3 separate regions of the Homo sapiens genome follow, and all the other regions are linked to region 1. Evidence: promoter capture Hi-C in 16 types of primary human blood cells and fetal thymus (Javierre and others, 2016). All regions are on one chromosome and are shown on one strand. The core of a region is centred on a gene start or on the middle of the fragment in contact, and the rest is flanking DNA. Distances in the headings are between cores, read along the strand shown. Region 1 holds the start of SNHG4 (small nucleolar RNA host gene 4). Region 2 has its middle 12 kb from the start of CTNNA1. Region 3 overlaps CTNNA1 (catenin alpha 1).

What was found. Contacts are between HindIII fragments. The CHiCAGO score rates a contact against its expected background, and 5 or more counts as called.
Region 2: a fragment that was not itself captured here is called in contact with the fragment with the promoter of SNHG4 in region 1 in 1 of 17 cell types (erythroblasts); the score reaches 5.1 in erythroblasts.
Region 3: a contact is called between a fragment that was not itself captured here and the fragment with the promoter of SNHG4 in region 1, in 1 of 17 cell types (M1 macrophages). The highest score is 5.6, in M1 macrophages.

What each region holds. Positions count from the first base shown.
Region 1 is chr5:139,270,919-139,276,040 of GRCh38, reverse strand. SNHG4 (small nucleolar RNA host gene 4) reads right to left here and starts at 1,940. Exons shown (of 7, transcript NR_182757.1): 1 at 1,880-1,940; 2 at 1,427-1,677. LOC124901081 (a long non-coding RNA gene) reads left to right here. Exons shown (of 4, transcript XR_007058956.1): 4 at 2,387-2,974. It also overlaps a transcript of MATR3 not described here. RefSeq lists a silencer at 1,867-1,946 and an enhancer at 2,237-2,586. The HindIII fragment of the contact is 4,492 bases long and covers 1-4,013 here.
Region 2 is chr5:138,738,445-138,743,566 of GRCh38, reverse strand. No RefSeq gene overlaps it. Among named protein-coding and RNA genes, the nearest start is that of CTNNA1, 12 kb to the left of the region's middle. RefSeq lists an enhancer at 795-1,094 and a silencer at 4,451-4,590. The HindIII fragment of the contact is 4,072 bases long and covers 875-4,946 here.
Region 3 is chr5:138,759,707-138,764,828 of GRCh38, reverse strand. The region is part of intron 1 of CTNNA1 (catenin alpha 1); the gene reads right to left. Among named protein-coding and RNA genes, the nearest start is that of CTNNA1-AS1, 8.3 kb to the right of the region's middle. The HindIII fragment of the contact is 3,571 bases long and covers 1,411-4,981 here.

The DNA.
Region 1 (5,122 bases), core at 691-3,190:
ACTTAGGCCTAAGCCACAGAAACAATAGCAGACAATAAAACCAATAGCTTATCCTTGTTTAGCTTTGTTTTCATCTCTTGTTACTTATACACCACAGCAGTTCAATAGTAGCAAAAGAGTCGATTAAACAAATATCAGGGAGCCTGGCTCTATCCCCTAACCAGTGTCTAGCCAAATGATACTGGGCGAGAAACCTCTCTATACCTCAGTCTCATTTGTAGAATGGAGGTATTATATTACAGGGTCTTTCTCTGCCACCCAGGCTGGAGTGCAGTGGCACAATCATGGCTCACTGCAGCCTCCACTTCCTGGGCTCAAGTGATTCTCCTACCTCAGCCTCCTGAGTAGCTGGGACTACAGGCGTGAGCGAGCACACCAAGCTGAATGGGGATATTACTAATAGTCCTCTGTAAATAGGGTGGTTGGGAGGCTTAAGTGAAATATAAGCTAATCCTCAGGATAATGTCTGGTATAGTGTGGGCACTCAGTAAACACCTGAGGAGCTACATTCCAAAAAAGGCTTAGATGGTGAATATGAGTGAGTAAAAAGGGAAAAGTTATCCAGTGAGAGAAACGGGCAGTGAACAGTGGGAACACTGGATAGAGGAGGGCCTCCAATACTTCCTGAAGGACAATAAAAACAGCACTTGGAAAAATAACTGCAGTATTGGATGTGAGGGGAATTGGAGGCAGTAGTCGTGCCAAGACCTCAACTACTGATTAAAAGCAATAACGAAAATGTTAGGCCGGGCGCGGTGGCTCACGCCTGTAATCCCAGCACTTTGGGAGGCTGAGGCTGGCGGATCACGAGTTCAGGAGATCGAGACCATACTGGCTAACACGGTGAAACCCCGTCTCTACTAAAAATACAAAAAAAAAAAAAAAAAAAAAAAAAAAATTAGCCGGGCGTGGTGGCGGGCACCTGTAGTCCCTGTTACTCGGGATGCTGAGGCAGGAGAATGGCATGAACCCAGGAGGCGGAGGTTGCAGTGAGCCGAGATCGCCCTACTGCACTCCAGCCTGGGCAACAGAGCAAGACTCCGTTAAAAAAAATAAAAATAACCAAAATGTTTGCACAAATGATAATAAATATTCCTACACAGTCACCATTTTTTTTTAGACGGAGTCTTGCTCTGTTACCAGGTTGGAATGCAGTGGTGCTATCTCGGCTCACTGCAATCTCTGCCTCCCGGGTTCAAGCGATTCTCCTGCCTCAGCCTCCCGACTTCAGGCGTGCGACACCACGCCCAGCTAAGTTTTGTATTTTTAGTAGAGACGGGGTTTCACCATGTTGGCCAGGATGGTCTTCTTCTCTTGACCTCGTCATCCGCCCGCCTCGGCCTCCCAAAGTGCTGAGATTACAGGCGTGAGCCACGCGCCCGGCCTCACAGTCACCATTATAATTTATGTAAGGCTAAGATCATACCTTTTTCCAGCCATCCCCAAATTTCACTCCTGACTTCCTCCAAATAATTTAGAGGAACAGGAAAATGAGTAGAGAGGGTTCATTGTTCGCTGGGTCTAAAAACAGATCTAAAAATAGCCTGCCCCTTTCAAGGCTCGGGTTAAAGGGGCTGACTCAGTTCCACCGGACATTTGTTCCTCACAAACCTTCCAAAGTCCCTGCCTCTGGCCCTGGGAGATCGAGGCTCTCGGAGTCAGGCTCTATGGGACTCCCTAGGGAGAAGAGGGAAGAGGGATGGTAGAAAAACAGGGGACGACTCCGAGGCCCAAGTCTCTTTCAGATGCCCTCCAAGCTCGGGATCACGAGGGGACGAACCCCAATTTCGTCCCGTGCCCCGGCAGAAGCCACCCTGCACTGCTTCTTTCCCCAGGCTGGGAAACCTCCAAGGACTCTCCCCTCTGGGTCCTTACTCACGCGCACGTGTTCGGAGCTCCGCAGGGCGCAGCAGCACCGGCAGAGGCCGGAGGGGAAAGGGCAGCCGGGAGCCGAGGGGAACCCCGCCCCGGGGCGGCTACTGGGCGTGGCTTCGGTGGGCGGGGCCCTTGACCCCGCCTAGGAAAGGCCGGGCTTTAAAAAAAAAAAAAAATGCGAGTGCGGTGGCAGAGGTGAACCTGCTTCTTAGAGGAGAGAAGGGCTGGGGTCTGAGCAATGGCTGGGTTTGTTGGACTCCCATCCCATCTCTTAAGGGTAGAAGGGGCGCATAGTTCGCAGCTGCTCAGGAGAGAATCTGTGTGTCCTAGTGGAGCCAGGCTTCCTGCCTGCCCACACTGAGCGCCCCCGGAACGCTGGTTCCGCTCACGAGCGTGGCGCCTTTCCGTTGCTGCAGGCCCAGCCCACGCTTTTGCGCTTCCCACGCATATCCTTTTTCTGGCTTTCTGCGGCAGCGCTGTCATTCGGCTAATGGATCGCTCACCCACGCAGGTCACCTTGGTCCACGGTCTTCGGGATCTTTCCAGGAGGTTTTCGAATAGATTAAGCCAGTCACTCCTACTGCTGACCTCTGCAGGACCGGCCTCCCTAGTGCCCTGCAGTGGGATTCTTCGCCGAGCTGCAGTAACTGAAGAACACTGGCTTTCTCTGCTAGACTTGCCCTGCACCATGGCACAGTCAGGCAGAGTCCTTGGTCAGGACAGACTGCCTGCAAGGCTACCAGGATTTCTTTGGAACACTAAAACTTCCCTCTCCCAGTGGCTAGAGTCCATATGATTCTGCTGGGGTCCAGAGTGGAAGGCCTACAAGCAGTGATTCCCAACTCCATTCTCTAATTCCCCCAAATTCCTTTCCGACACCCGCCCCCCAACAACAACAACCAATCCTGTAAGTTTTGCTGATCTCTTGCACCTGGCACCATTGCCAGGTGAACCCCTGGGAACCAAGCCACTGCCCTTGGCATCTGCCAACATGTTTCATTGTCTATTTCCTCAGCTCTTTCATAATGAAAAAGGTATGCTTCTTGTGCACCCCAACTCTTGCAGACCTCTCCTAAGAAAGCCCAGAGCCCCAGTTTGATTCCAGCAAGAGACCCTAGGCTGTAGGGCCAAAGAGCCACTGGAGGGGAAGTGGCAAGCTCAAATCCTCCCCAGTTTTGATGCAGTTGGACATAGGCTCTGGTTGGGAAAAGGCTTACATAAATACAGTAATTTAAAAAGTCACATGACCAGTGCTGGGCTGGTAGGCAGGAGCTCTGCTTTGCAGTTAAATAGGAATGTGGCTGAAGACTGCTGCCATAATCAATGCCCACATCCGGCTGTCACAGCGTGTTCATAAAGGAAGGTTATGAGAGCTATAAAACCAGGCAGATTGGGTGGGTAATTGTCCTACCGAGCTCTGCTAAAGGAGAAATTGCATTGGCATCTCATATATTTCGCTTTCTTTCCTTCCAAACACACAAAGTGGAGAGGGCAGAGCTACCCTGAAGATTCATGAAAAGGAAAGATAGGGTGTGTGTGTGTGTGTGTGTGTGTGTGTGTATGTGTGTGTGTGAATGTGCATGTGTGCTTTCAGAGAAGAGACAAGAAGTAACTGAGGACAGGGAGCTATGCAGACCTTTGGGGAGAGAGGGACCAATAATCTGGTGATGACTGGATTCAGATTAGTCCAGGTAGAAGGCAGGATTTATGTGGAAGGCCAGCCATTATAAATAAGGCTGTGAGGTAAGCCATATTTTCATGTCCTGTTGAACAAGTGGTCAACTTTTTGGGCTATAGGTCTTTCAATGACCTTTGGAGAAAAACCTAGATGAAGATTTTGTTTCCAACTTAAAAATCCTTCATAGTCAACCTTTTTGACTTCCATCCTTTTAAATTCTGAATTAATTTTGATGGGTTGATTTATGTTTTTTTTACCTGTAATATCAACTATTTTTCTACTTTTTTGTTTCTTCTTGCAAAGACAAAATTATTGAGAATAATAACAAAAAATAAAAGGGAACATTTCTAGAAAAAAAGATGCAGCTAGATGGAAAGCAAAGGACTAGGGGAAGTCCATTAGCTCTGAGTTTGACCTCATAACTTAAAGCTGACCTCAAGTGACACCAGGTCCCCAAGCTTCTTCCCTGCCTTTCTCTTTATCCTCCATCTCTCCTCTCATTCCTGCTTCCCTCCTTGATGCTTTCTGCCTCTAAGACTGCTCTTTTTCTTTCTCCCTGAACAGGGAGAAAAACCACCAGTAGAGAAATATCTAGTCATTTGTTCAGTTAGTCAGTCACTCAGTCAATCAACATTTACGAAACATCTATCATGTGCCAGACTCTGTTCAGATGCTGCAGATAAAGTCAGAACAATAGAGATTCCTGCCTGCCTAAAGCTTACAGTCTAGAGGAGAAGAATGACAAGTACTATATGTATACTTGGTCACATGTCTGGGGGCAGCTAACATAGCCTAGGGGGTCAGGAAGAGTACTAGAGATAGCTGTATTCTCTCTGGCTGATCCTAAGGGCTTAGAGTAGAGGAGGGACCCCTCCTCCATCCCTGCACTCCTCTTGCTGCTATGTACTAGCTACCCAATTAGAGTGGGGCTCTTCAGTTGTCCTTGTTATTTCTCAAAAGCATAGTTGGATTGGCAAGGATGTGGAGAAATTGGAACCCTCATACACTGCTGGTGGGAATGTAAAATGGTGCAGCTGCTTTGGAAAACCGTCTGGCAGTTCCTCAAATGATTAAACACAGAGTTACTTTATGACTCAGCAATTCCAGTCCTAGGTATGTACCCAAGAGAAATTAAAGCCCGTCACACAAAAGCCTATACAGAAATGTTTACAGCAGCATTATTCATAATAGCCCTCCAAAACCAAACGTTCATTACTTGATGAATGGATAAACAAAATGTGGCATATCCACACAATGGACTATTACTTGGCCATAAAAGGGAATTAATCCTGTAATCCCAGCACTTTGAAGAGGCTAAGGCAAGAGGATTGCTTGAGCCCAGGAGTTCAAGACCAGCCTGGGCAACATAGAGATGGGACCCCATCTCTACAAAAAATAAAAAAATTAGGTGGGCATGGTGATACACAACTGTAGTCCCAGCTACTTTAGGGGGCTAAGGTGAGAGGATTGCTTAAGCCTGGGAGATTGAGGCTGCAGTGAGCTGTGATCATGCCATTGCACTCCAGCCTGAGTGACAGTGAAACTCTGTCTCAAAAAAAAAAAAAAAAA
Region 2 (5,122 bases), core at 1,661-4,160, 530 kb after region 1:
TTTCATCCCAAAACCATTCCCCCTGCTCCCACAAAACCAGTCCCTGGTGCCAAAAAGGTTGGAGACTGCTGACCTAACACATTGTATGGTTATTTATTTATTGTCTGTCTTCCCTCAATAAAATGTAAGATTCATTAAAGCAGATATTTTCTCTTCTGCTCACTGGTTTTGTTTTGTTTTTTGATATGGAGTCTTACTCTGTCACCCAGGCTGGAATGCAGTGGTGCGATCTCAGCTCACTGCAACCACCGCCGCCCGGGTTCAAGCAATTCTCTTGCCTCAACCTCCCAAGTAACTGGGATTACAGGCATGCAACACCACACCCGGCTAATTTTTGTATTTTTCGTAGAGACAGGGTTTCACTATGTTGGCCAGCCTGGTCTCAAACTGCTGACCTGAAGAATCTTCCCACCTCGGCCTCCCAAAGTGCTGGGATTACAGACATAGGCCACTATGCCCGGCCTCTGCTCACTGTTATAACTCTAGCACCTAAAGCAGTGCCTGGCAGTTAACAGGAACTCAGTTGAATTAATGAGTAGTTAAGTCTGTGAGGATACACAGCAAATGTTCCAGTAGTTAAACAAAGGGAGGGGAGGGGAGTAGAGTAGAGCAGAGGGGTCTTTAAAACAGATTAGATGGTTTAGAGTACATAGTGTAGTATATAGTATGTAAGTGTCGTGGGGATGGAAAGAAGTGGATAGATTTGGGAGCTACGCAGAAGAACAGAGGAGCCTAGGCCTTGCCGATGGATTGGATATGGAGGTTCTGGGAAAGGAGAAGTCAAGAATCATCTTCAGGTTTCTGATTTGATCAGTGAGGAAATAGTGGTGCCATTTACCCAGAGAGATAGAGAAAGAGCCCTGGAGGTAAAGCTTGTGGGGAAGTGGGTGGAGAGTCATGCAGACAGTTATTTTTGGTCATGCTTAGTTTCAGTGCCTACCAAACATATATGAGGAAATGTTCTATAGACAGGGAAATATCCAGACGTGAGCTCAGGAAAGACCCAGTGTGGAGAGAAAGATGTGTAAGTCACCTGCACTTAGAGAATGTGTGCTAGGAAAGCATGAAGGTCCAGACCCAACATTTAAGAGAAAGAGAAACCAAAACAGGAGACTGTGTTGCCCTCTGCAACACCAGAGCCCTCCTTTTTGCCTAAAATGCATCAATTCCTTTCCCACATCAGGATCTTTCCATTTGTTGTACTCTCTACTTGGAAATCTCTTTGCCTTAACTCTTCACCAGCCTGGCTCCTTCTCATTCCTGAGGGCCAGTTTCTTTCCTTTTTTTTTTTTTTTTTTTTTTTGAGACGGAGTCTCATTCTGTCACCCAGGCTGGAGTGCAGTGGCGTGATCTCAGCTCACTGCAAGCTCCACCTCCTGGGTTCATGCCATTCTCCTGCCTCAGCCTTCCGAGCAGCTGGGACTATAGGCACCTGCCACCATGCCCGGCTAATTTTTTTTATTTTTAGTAGAGATGGGGTTTCACCGTGTTAGCCAGGATGGTCTCGATCTCCTGACCTCGTTATCTGCCCACCTCAGCCTCCCAAAGTGCGGGATTACAGGCATGAGCCACCGCGCCCGACTGAGGGCCAGTTTCTATATCATCTGGTCAGAGAGGCCTTTCCTGACCACACCTCAAACACCCCAGTCTCTCTCTACCACATCACTGCATTTTTGTTCTTTATAGCACTTGTTCTGCTCTAGAATTGTCTTGTTTGCCTGCTGGTTTATTTTCTGCCTCCTCCATTAGGAGGAGCTCCATAAGGACAAGAACTTGTCTCATTTTTTGATTTCTTTGCTCCCATAATTTAACACAGGGCCTGAAACATAAAATGCACTTTAAAAATATTTGCTGAAAGAATATGGGCTATAGACGTAGGAGAAAAATCAAGTGTCATTAAAGCCAAGGACTTGGTCACTGATTTCAATTGATGGCATTTGGGTTGAAACTTTAGATTTCAACTTACTTTAGGTTGCCGAACATAATGCCCATACCCACCAAATTTAAGGCTGTGCCAAGAATATTAAGGAAAAAACAAAACAAAAACCCTATCAAAGATCATTTTAGAGATTCTCTACATCATGAGGACTTTGTTATTATTTACCTACCTGTCATAATTGTTTCATTATCATGCTGGTAAATAGCTTCACAGTTTAAAAAGCACTTTCCTGGATATTGTCTCATTTGAGGCACTCCAAACCCCTAAGAAAGGTACTCCACAACTTTTTTTTTTTTTTTGAGACAAAGTCTCACTCTGTTTGTTGCCCAGGCTGGAGTGCAGTAATGCTATCTCAGCTCACTGCAACCTCCACCTCCAGGGTTCAAGCGATGCTCATGCCTCAGGCTCCTGAGTTGCTGGGATTACAGGTGCGCGCCACCACACCCAGCTAATTTTTGTATTTTTAGTAGAGACATGGTGTCACCATGGCTGGTCTCAAATTCCCAACCTCAAGTGATCTGCCCTCCTCCACCTCCCAAAGTTCTGGGACTACAGGCGTGAGCCACAGTGCCTGGCCTCCACAAGTCTGTAATCCCAGCAGTTTGGGAGGCTGAGGCGGGTGGATCACGAGGTCAGGAGACTGAGACCATCCTGGCTAACAAGGTGAAACCCCGTCACTGCACTCCAGCCTGGGTAACAGACCAAGACTCTGTCAGAAAGAAAGAAAGAAAGAAAGAGAGAGAGAGAGAGAGAGAGAGAGAGAGAGAGAGAGAGAGAGAGAGAGAGGAAGAGGAAGGGAGGGAAGAAGGAAGGAAGGAAGGAAGGAAGGCAGGCAGGCAGGCAGGCCGGCTGGCCGGGTAAGATGGTTCATGCCTGTAATCCCAGCACTTTGGGAGGTGGAAGCAGGCAGACCACTTGAGGGCGGGAGTTCCAGACCACCCTGGCTAACATGGTGAAAGCCTGTCTCTACTAAACAAACAAACAAACAAAAATTAGCTGGGAGTGGTGGCGCACGTCTGTAGTCCTAGCTACTCAGGAGGCTGAGGCAGAAATCACTTGAACCTGGGAGGCGGAGGTTGTAGTGAGCCAGGATGGCGCCACTGCACTCCCCCAGCCTGGGCAATAGAGGGGACCCCATCACAAAAAACAAAAAAAAACAAAACAAAAAAAGAAAGGTAGAACTAAAATGAGTAAAGATGTCGGAATGATGAAGACAAGAGCTGACTTGGCAGCTTTGTAATGAAGATTGGAAAATCTTTACTCGTGGCCACGAAGTGGTGAGCACCCCCTCCGCCAATTAAGTTCCATAGAAAAAGTTAAAGGGACTCTTGGTTTAGCCTGAGGAAAGCCAGCAAAAGGAGTTAGATTTAGACAAGAGTCAGTAAAAACAAAAGGTAAAACCAAAGTGTGGGCCACATCAGGGTTAGCCAATGCCTGATGGCCCTGGTTGCCTTTCAGTTTATTTTCAGATGAGTGGGAGAAAAGCAGGGGAGGCCTGCCCACCCTAGTTTTGTCTGTTGGTTTAGTTAACATCAGAGGATTTCCTCATTTCTGTAGAGCCCAGTAATTCTCAACTCTGGCAGCACACAAGAATCACCTGGAGAGCTTTTAAAAAATATGATACTCAGGCACCACCCCCAGGACTCAGATTCAATTGTTCTTCAGTAGGAACTTAGCATTTTAAAAAATCTCCCTGGGTGATTCTAATGTGCAGCCGGAGTTGAGAATCACTGATACCTAATATAAGCCTGAGCAGAAAACAAAGTCATGTATACCTAAAACTTATTAATTCATTTGCTCATACAATAATTAACACACTCGATGAGTAAAAATAATAATAGTTCATATTTACTAAGTCTTTGATGTATGCCAGGCTCTGTGCTAAATGCTTCATATTTCTTTATTTTTTATTTTATTTTTTTTGAGACAGAGTCTTGCTCTGTCACCAGGCTGGAGTGCAGTGGCGCGATCTCGGCTCACTGCAACCTCCGCCTCCCAGGTTCAAGCAATTCCCCTGCCTCGGCCTCCTGAGTAGCTGGGACTACAGGCTCACGCCACCACACTTGGCTAATTTTTTTTTTGTATTTTAGTAGGGATAGGGTTTCACCATGTTGGCCAGGATGGTCTCGATCTCCTGACCTCGTGATCCGCCCACCTCGGCCTCCCAAAGTGCTGGGATTACAGGCAAGAGCCACTGCTCCAGGCAAAGTGCTTCATATTTCATCCAGGCCTCTCAACAATCCTACAGTAGTTAATGTTGTATTCCTCATTCTATAAATAAGAAAACAGAGACTTAGGTCATGCTGAGATTATGTGGCAGTGCTGGGGCCCAGATCTGCCAGAATCCAGAACCACCCTCTTTTTTAGTTGTTGTTGTTTTTTCGAGATGAAGTCTTGCTCTGTCACCCAGGCTGGAGCGCGATCTCAGCTCACTGCAACCTCTGCCTCCCGGGTTCACGCCATTCTCCTGCCTCAGCCTCCCGAGTAGCTGGGATTACAGGCACCTGCCACCACACCCAGCTAATTTTTGTATTTTAGTATAGACAGGGTTTCACCACATTGGCCAGGCTGGTCTTGAACTTCTGACCTTGTGATCCACCCACCTCAGCCTTTCAAAGAGCTGGGATTACAGGTGTGAGTCACTGCGCCCAGCCCAGAACCATGCTCTTAACCACTCCCACTTAGCCTCTGAAATGTCAATGGGTTTTTAAAAATCTTTCTTGAAAAGCCACATTCAAAATAGTTTTCCTGTCAAGACGATACCATAATGGAGGTGATTTAAATGCCTCGTTTTTATGCTATATACGTCTTGTCTTTTTGCACAGCTTCAAGCGGTCTGACAGGTGGGGCTGTTTGGGGAGTTAGGGGGTCCCAGGACGAGGGCTTCACTTGCATCCCTTTCAGGCCTCTTCTAACAGAGGATGCCATTGGCTTTACCCAGTGAGTTAAATTTTAAATAAAAAGAACCAAACTTAGGCCCTTGACACTTATGAAAGATGTGTAAGCTTCTCTTTATTCATGTTATTCATCTTCCCTGTAGAAACTAGAATCAAGATTTAGTTCTTAAAATCAGTCAGCAGTGGGTGTTCATGATTCTTCCCTTTCTGATATGATCAAAGATGTGTACATAAAAACAAACACTTCCCGCCCCTTTCATGCTCATATTTTTGTTGATAACAAAGG
Region 3 (5,122 bases), core at 1,947-4,446, 510 kb after region 1:
GCAACTAGAAAACATCACATCTTTCACTGGTCTTAAAGACCCGAAATAAATGTCATCTGGCCAGGTACAGTGGCACACACCTATAATCCCAGCACTTTGGGAGGCTGAGGTGGGCGGATCACCTGAGGTCAGGAGTTCGAGACCAGCCTGACCAACATGGAGAAACCCCGTCTCTAATAAAAATACAAAATCAGCCAGGCGTGGTGGTGCATGCCTGTAATCCCAGCTACTCGGGAGGCTAAGGCAGGAGAATCGCTTCAACCCAGGAGGCAGAGGTTGCGGTCAACTGAGATCATGCCACTGCACTCCAGCCTGGGCAACAAAAGCAAAACTCCGTCTCAAATTAAAAAAAAAGAAAAAAGTTGCCATCTTCCATTTCCACTTTTTTTTCCCTCCCAAGGGATCAAACTCACATTTCACTTAGTTACCTCTCTGCAAAATGGAAGGTTTCTTTTTTTTGTTGAGACAGAGTTTCACTCTTGTTGCCCAGGCTGGAGTGCAATGGCACGATCTCAGCTCACTGCAACCTCCGCCTTCCAGGTTCAAGGGATTCTTCTGCCTCAGCCTCCCGAGTAACTGGGATTACAGGCATGTGCCACCATGCCCGGCTAATTATTTTTTTGTTTTTTGTTTTTTGTTTTTTTGAGACAGATTCTCGCTCTGTCACCCACGCTGGAGTGCAATGGCACAATCTCAGCTCACTGCAACCTCCACCTCCCGGGTTCAAGCAATTCTCCTGCCTCAGACTCAGGAGTAGCTGGGATTACAAGTGTGAGACACCGCGCCCTGCAATTTTTTGTATTTTTAGTAGAGACGGTGTTTCTCCATGTTAGTCAGGCTAGTCTTGAACTCCTGACCTCAGGTGATCTGCCCGCCTCCCAAAGTGCTGGGATTAAAGGCGTGAGCCACCGCACCCAGCCTAAATGGCAGGTTTCTAAAGACACACTTAAAAGTCAGTCCAAAGCTTTTCTAAAAATATGATAACCCAGGTCCACAGACGCAAGAGAATGACAACAAATGAATCCCTCATGAAACCTTTTGCCAATTTAGAGATCCCCAGGAATATAAAACCCACAAACACTGTTTCATCAGTAATAGTAACATGCTTCTCCCTTTTAGCCTCTAGCTTATTCACTGCACCATCATATTTCACAAACCATGATTTAGAATTTGGATTGTAAACTCAGGCCAGGCACAGTGGCACATGCCTGTAATCCTAGCACTTTGGAGGCCAAGGTGGGCAGATCGCTTGAGTTCAGGAGTTCAAAGATCAGCCTAAGCAATATGGTGAGACCTGTCTCTACTAAAAATGTAAAAAATTAGCTGGGTGTCGTAGTACACACCTATGGTCCCAGCTATTCAGAAGGCTGAGGTGGGAGGATGGCTTGACCCTGTCTCAAAAAAAAAGCTTGGATTAATATTGAAATATTGAATCTAATGAAATATTCAACATACCATGAGAGAATGGTAACAATGCATCTTTGCCTAGAAAGAATGCATGTAACAGAGCCGCACAGGGCAAATGCACTATCAAAGGCTCAATCCTTCAATTAACTTGAAATGGGCCATAGTGAATGTGTTTTCTGAGTTATAACAGCACTTTCATTTTCAAGAACAGTCTGTATGTAGTCTAACCTAGTTAATAAATACAGGATTATGTAACTTGGTAATTAACCAGGTTTCCAACTCACATCTTCAATTCAGAATGTCAAATACTGACAAAAAAAAACATAGCAATAAGACACTTTCAAGAGAGTTGATGAGCCACTTATTTTTGACAATATTTAATAATGAAACCTCAAAACAAGAAAATGAAGGAAATTCACAGCTTGATATGATGGAATCAAATAGTCAAAACTAAGCAATCTAGGGAAAAAATTAGCCTTTAAATTAGCAATTAAGAAAGATAAATTTTTCTTCTGTTAAGCCCTTTTAGTCTAAAAAGAAAAAAAAACCTCTTAGAGACAAAAATTACATTAGCTTCCACAATATAGTTCCATCCCTCCTTTTAATAAAATGGGAACATGAAAAAAATGACAGACATTTTAAAAATCACTTCACACTACTCATACAATATTGTTCAAAATGAGCAAATGTTACAAGTATTTAGAACATCCGAAGTTGCCCTGTGAACTGTATTTACATTACATGCATTACTCCAAACTTACAGCTGGTAAAAAAAAAAAACCACAAATTAAATCCCAATCAAAAAGAGGGGTTGATCGATGACAGCCCATCAACAAGTAAGTGGAAATACATGCTAATTTCAAGCTCCATTAGAAATGGAGTTGTGGCATACTTCCACATGGAGAAAAATAAGTTTGATAGTTATAAAAAAAAACTAAAGAAAATAATGAACATTTAAGGCTCTAACAGAGAAAGGGCAATGTTGACATTTTATTTTTGAAGTGTGGTTCTTTGCACACTTGGAACTTTCAATAATGGATAATTCAGTATAGTGCTCTCACAAGTGAGCAAACAGCATGAGACAAGGCAAGTCACGCTGGACTAATTCCCCACACTGTTCAGTCCATTCAATCCAGGCCCACAACATGTGGGGGACAGGGCAGATCACCAAGCAGTACATGTAATATCTTCAAGGTCTGGAAGCAGGCATACTGGTACCCAGGCAAGTTTCAGAAAGTGCTGCTCTATGAGACTCTTCCAGATGTGTTTTAACTTTTTCCTTACAGAAAACAGAAGCTGCTAATAAGACTTAAATCCTCCAACATGCATAGAATAATAACCTAAATTTCTTTAGGACTTCAAAGTGGGCCAGGCGCAGTGGGTCACGCCTGTAATCTCAGCTCTTTGGGAGGCCAAGGCAGGTGGATCACTTGAGCTCAGGAGTTTGAGACCAGCCTGGGAAACACGGTGAAACTCTGTCTCTACAGAAAACACAAAAATTAGCCAGGCATTGTGGCAGGCGCCTGTAGTCCCAGCTCCATAGGAGGCTGCGGTGAGGGGATCACTTTCAACCCGGGAGGTCAAGGCTGCAGTGAGGTGTGATTGCACCACTGCACTCCAGCCTGGATGACTGAGTGAGACCCTGTATCAACAACAACAAAAAGACCTCAAAGTGTGTGGTTTTGGTCACTTGAGAAAAAAATGATTTGGGCAGAGAAGGTAGAAAGAATAATTGGGTTCATGTTTTTCACTACTTATTTATTATCTCCATATAGAAGGCCAAACTCACCCCCAAAATTTTTTTGAGTAAATTTTTTTACCTGTTCATTTTTCCACCTTTTATGCACAATAAAATTCACTCTCTCGTATACCAATCTAAAAACAGCTGTGTGGGCCAGGTGAGTGGCTAAAGCCCGCAATCCCAGCACTTTAGGAGGCGGACGGATCATTTGAGGTCAGGAGTTCAAAACCAGCCTGGCCAAAATGGTGAAACCCCGTCTCTACTAAAAGTACAAAAATTAAACAGGTCGTGGTGACACATGCTTGCAAATCCCAGCTACTCAGGAAGCTGAGGCAGGAGAATCATTTGAACTCAGGAAGTGGAGGTTGCAGTGAGCCGAGATCATGCCACTGCACTCCAGACTGGGCGACAGGGTGAGACTCTGTCTCAAAAAAAATAAATAACAGTTGTGTGATCACCTCCACAATCAAGATACAGAGAAGTCAAATGAATTTATTTTCACAACAGCATGTACCTACAACTAATCCACAGAATATAAGAGTACAAAATATTATTTACTTAGAACACCTGCTTCAAGAGCTAAGTGGGCATCAACTTCTGAAGAGGCTGACGAAGGACTACAGTTGACAAGGCAGATCCCTAACATCCCTGACAAGGAACGTTCCTGAACAGAAATTCAGTACCAAACCCTTTCTGGATGACATCATCACCAGCATGTGGCCTTCCAGAACTTATTATATATCCAACCAGCCCGAGAGACATCTCCTCTTCTATCCAAGTTTGTGACCTGCTATTAAAACCCCCCTTTCAGCTTCATTCAACAGTCAGCCTACAGTCACACCACTTCAAGTACTCAGACAATAGATCAAGAATGTCTAAAGTGGAAAATACCCTGATGTACCACAGGTGATGATAAAGTACATTTCTGGAGAGGAATTTGGAAAAATTTTAAGAGCTATAAAAAAGTAGCATACCTTGGAAATAATCCAAACGTCCATCAACATATGAATGGATAGGTCAGACGTGGTGGCTCACGCCTGTAATCCCAGCAGTTTTCGAGGCTGAGGCAGGTGAATCATTTGAGGTCAGGAGTTAGAGACCAGCCTGGCCAATATGGTGAAACCCCGTTTCTACTAAAAATAAAGAAATTAGCCGGGTGGTAGTGGCGCACACCTGTAATCCCAGCTACTCAGGAGGCTGAGGCAGGAGAATCGTTTTGAGCTTGGGAGGCAGAGGTTGTGGTGAGCCAAGATCGCACCACTGCACTCCAGCCTGGACAACAGAGACTCTGTCCCCTCCAAAAAAAAAAGTATGAATGGATAAACAAAATATGGCATATACATACAATAAATGGAACATTATTCAGCCTTTAAAAGGAAAGAAATCCGGCTGAGCACGGTGGCTCACTCCTGCAATCCCAGCACTTTGGTAGGCCGAGGCGGGTGGATCACCTGAGGTCAGGAGTTCAAGACCAGCCTGACCAACATGGAGAAACCCCGTCTCTACTAAAAATAACAAAATTAGCCAGGCATGGTGGCGCATGCCTGTATCCCAGCTACTCAGGAGGCTGAGGCAGGAGAATCGCTTGAACCCGGGAGGCGGAGGTTGTGGTGAGCCAAGATCGCGCCATTGCACTCCAGCCTGGGCGACAAGAGTGAAACTCCATCTCATAAAAAAAAAAAAAAAAAAAAAAAAAAAAAGGAAAGAAATTCTGGGAGAGGATTCCAGATTCTAAAACAGCAGAGTAGGAAGCACCAAGATCAGTCTCCCCACCTAGACAATTACACTGGCATAATTAGTCAGATGTAATTCTGGGGACTGTTGAAGAAAGCTTGCAACTTCCAAGGAAAGACTGGGACAGTAAATTGGGTTAATTTCAGTCAATTTCAGCCCTTAGCTGAGCAGCAGCTACCCCATTCCCTAGCCCCCAGCCACGGGCAGACAACCTACAATGCATTCCTGAAACAGCTTGCA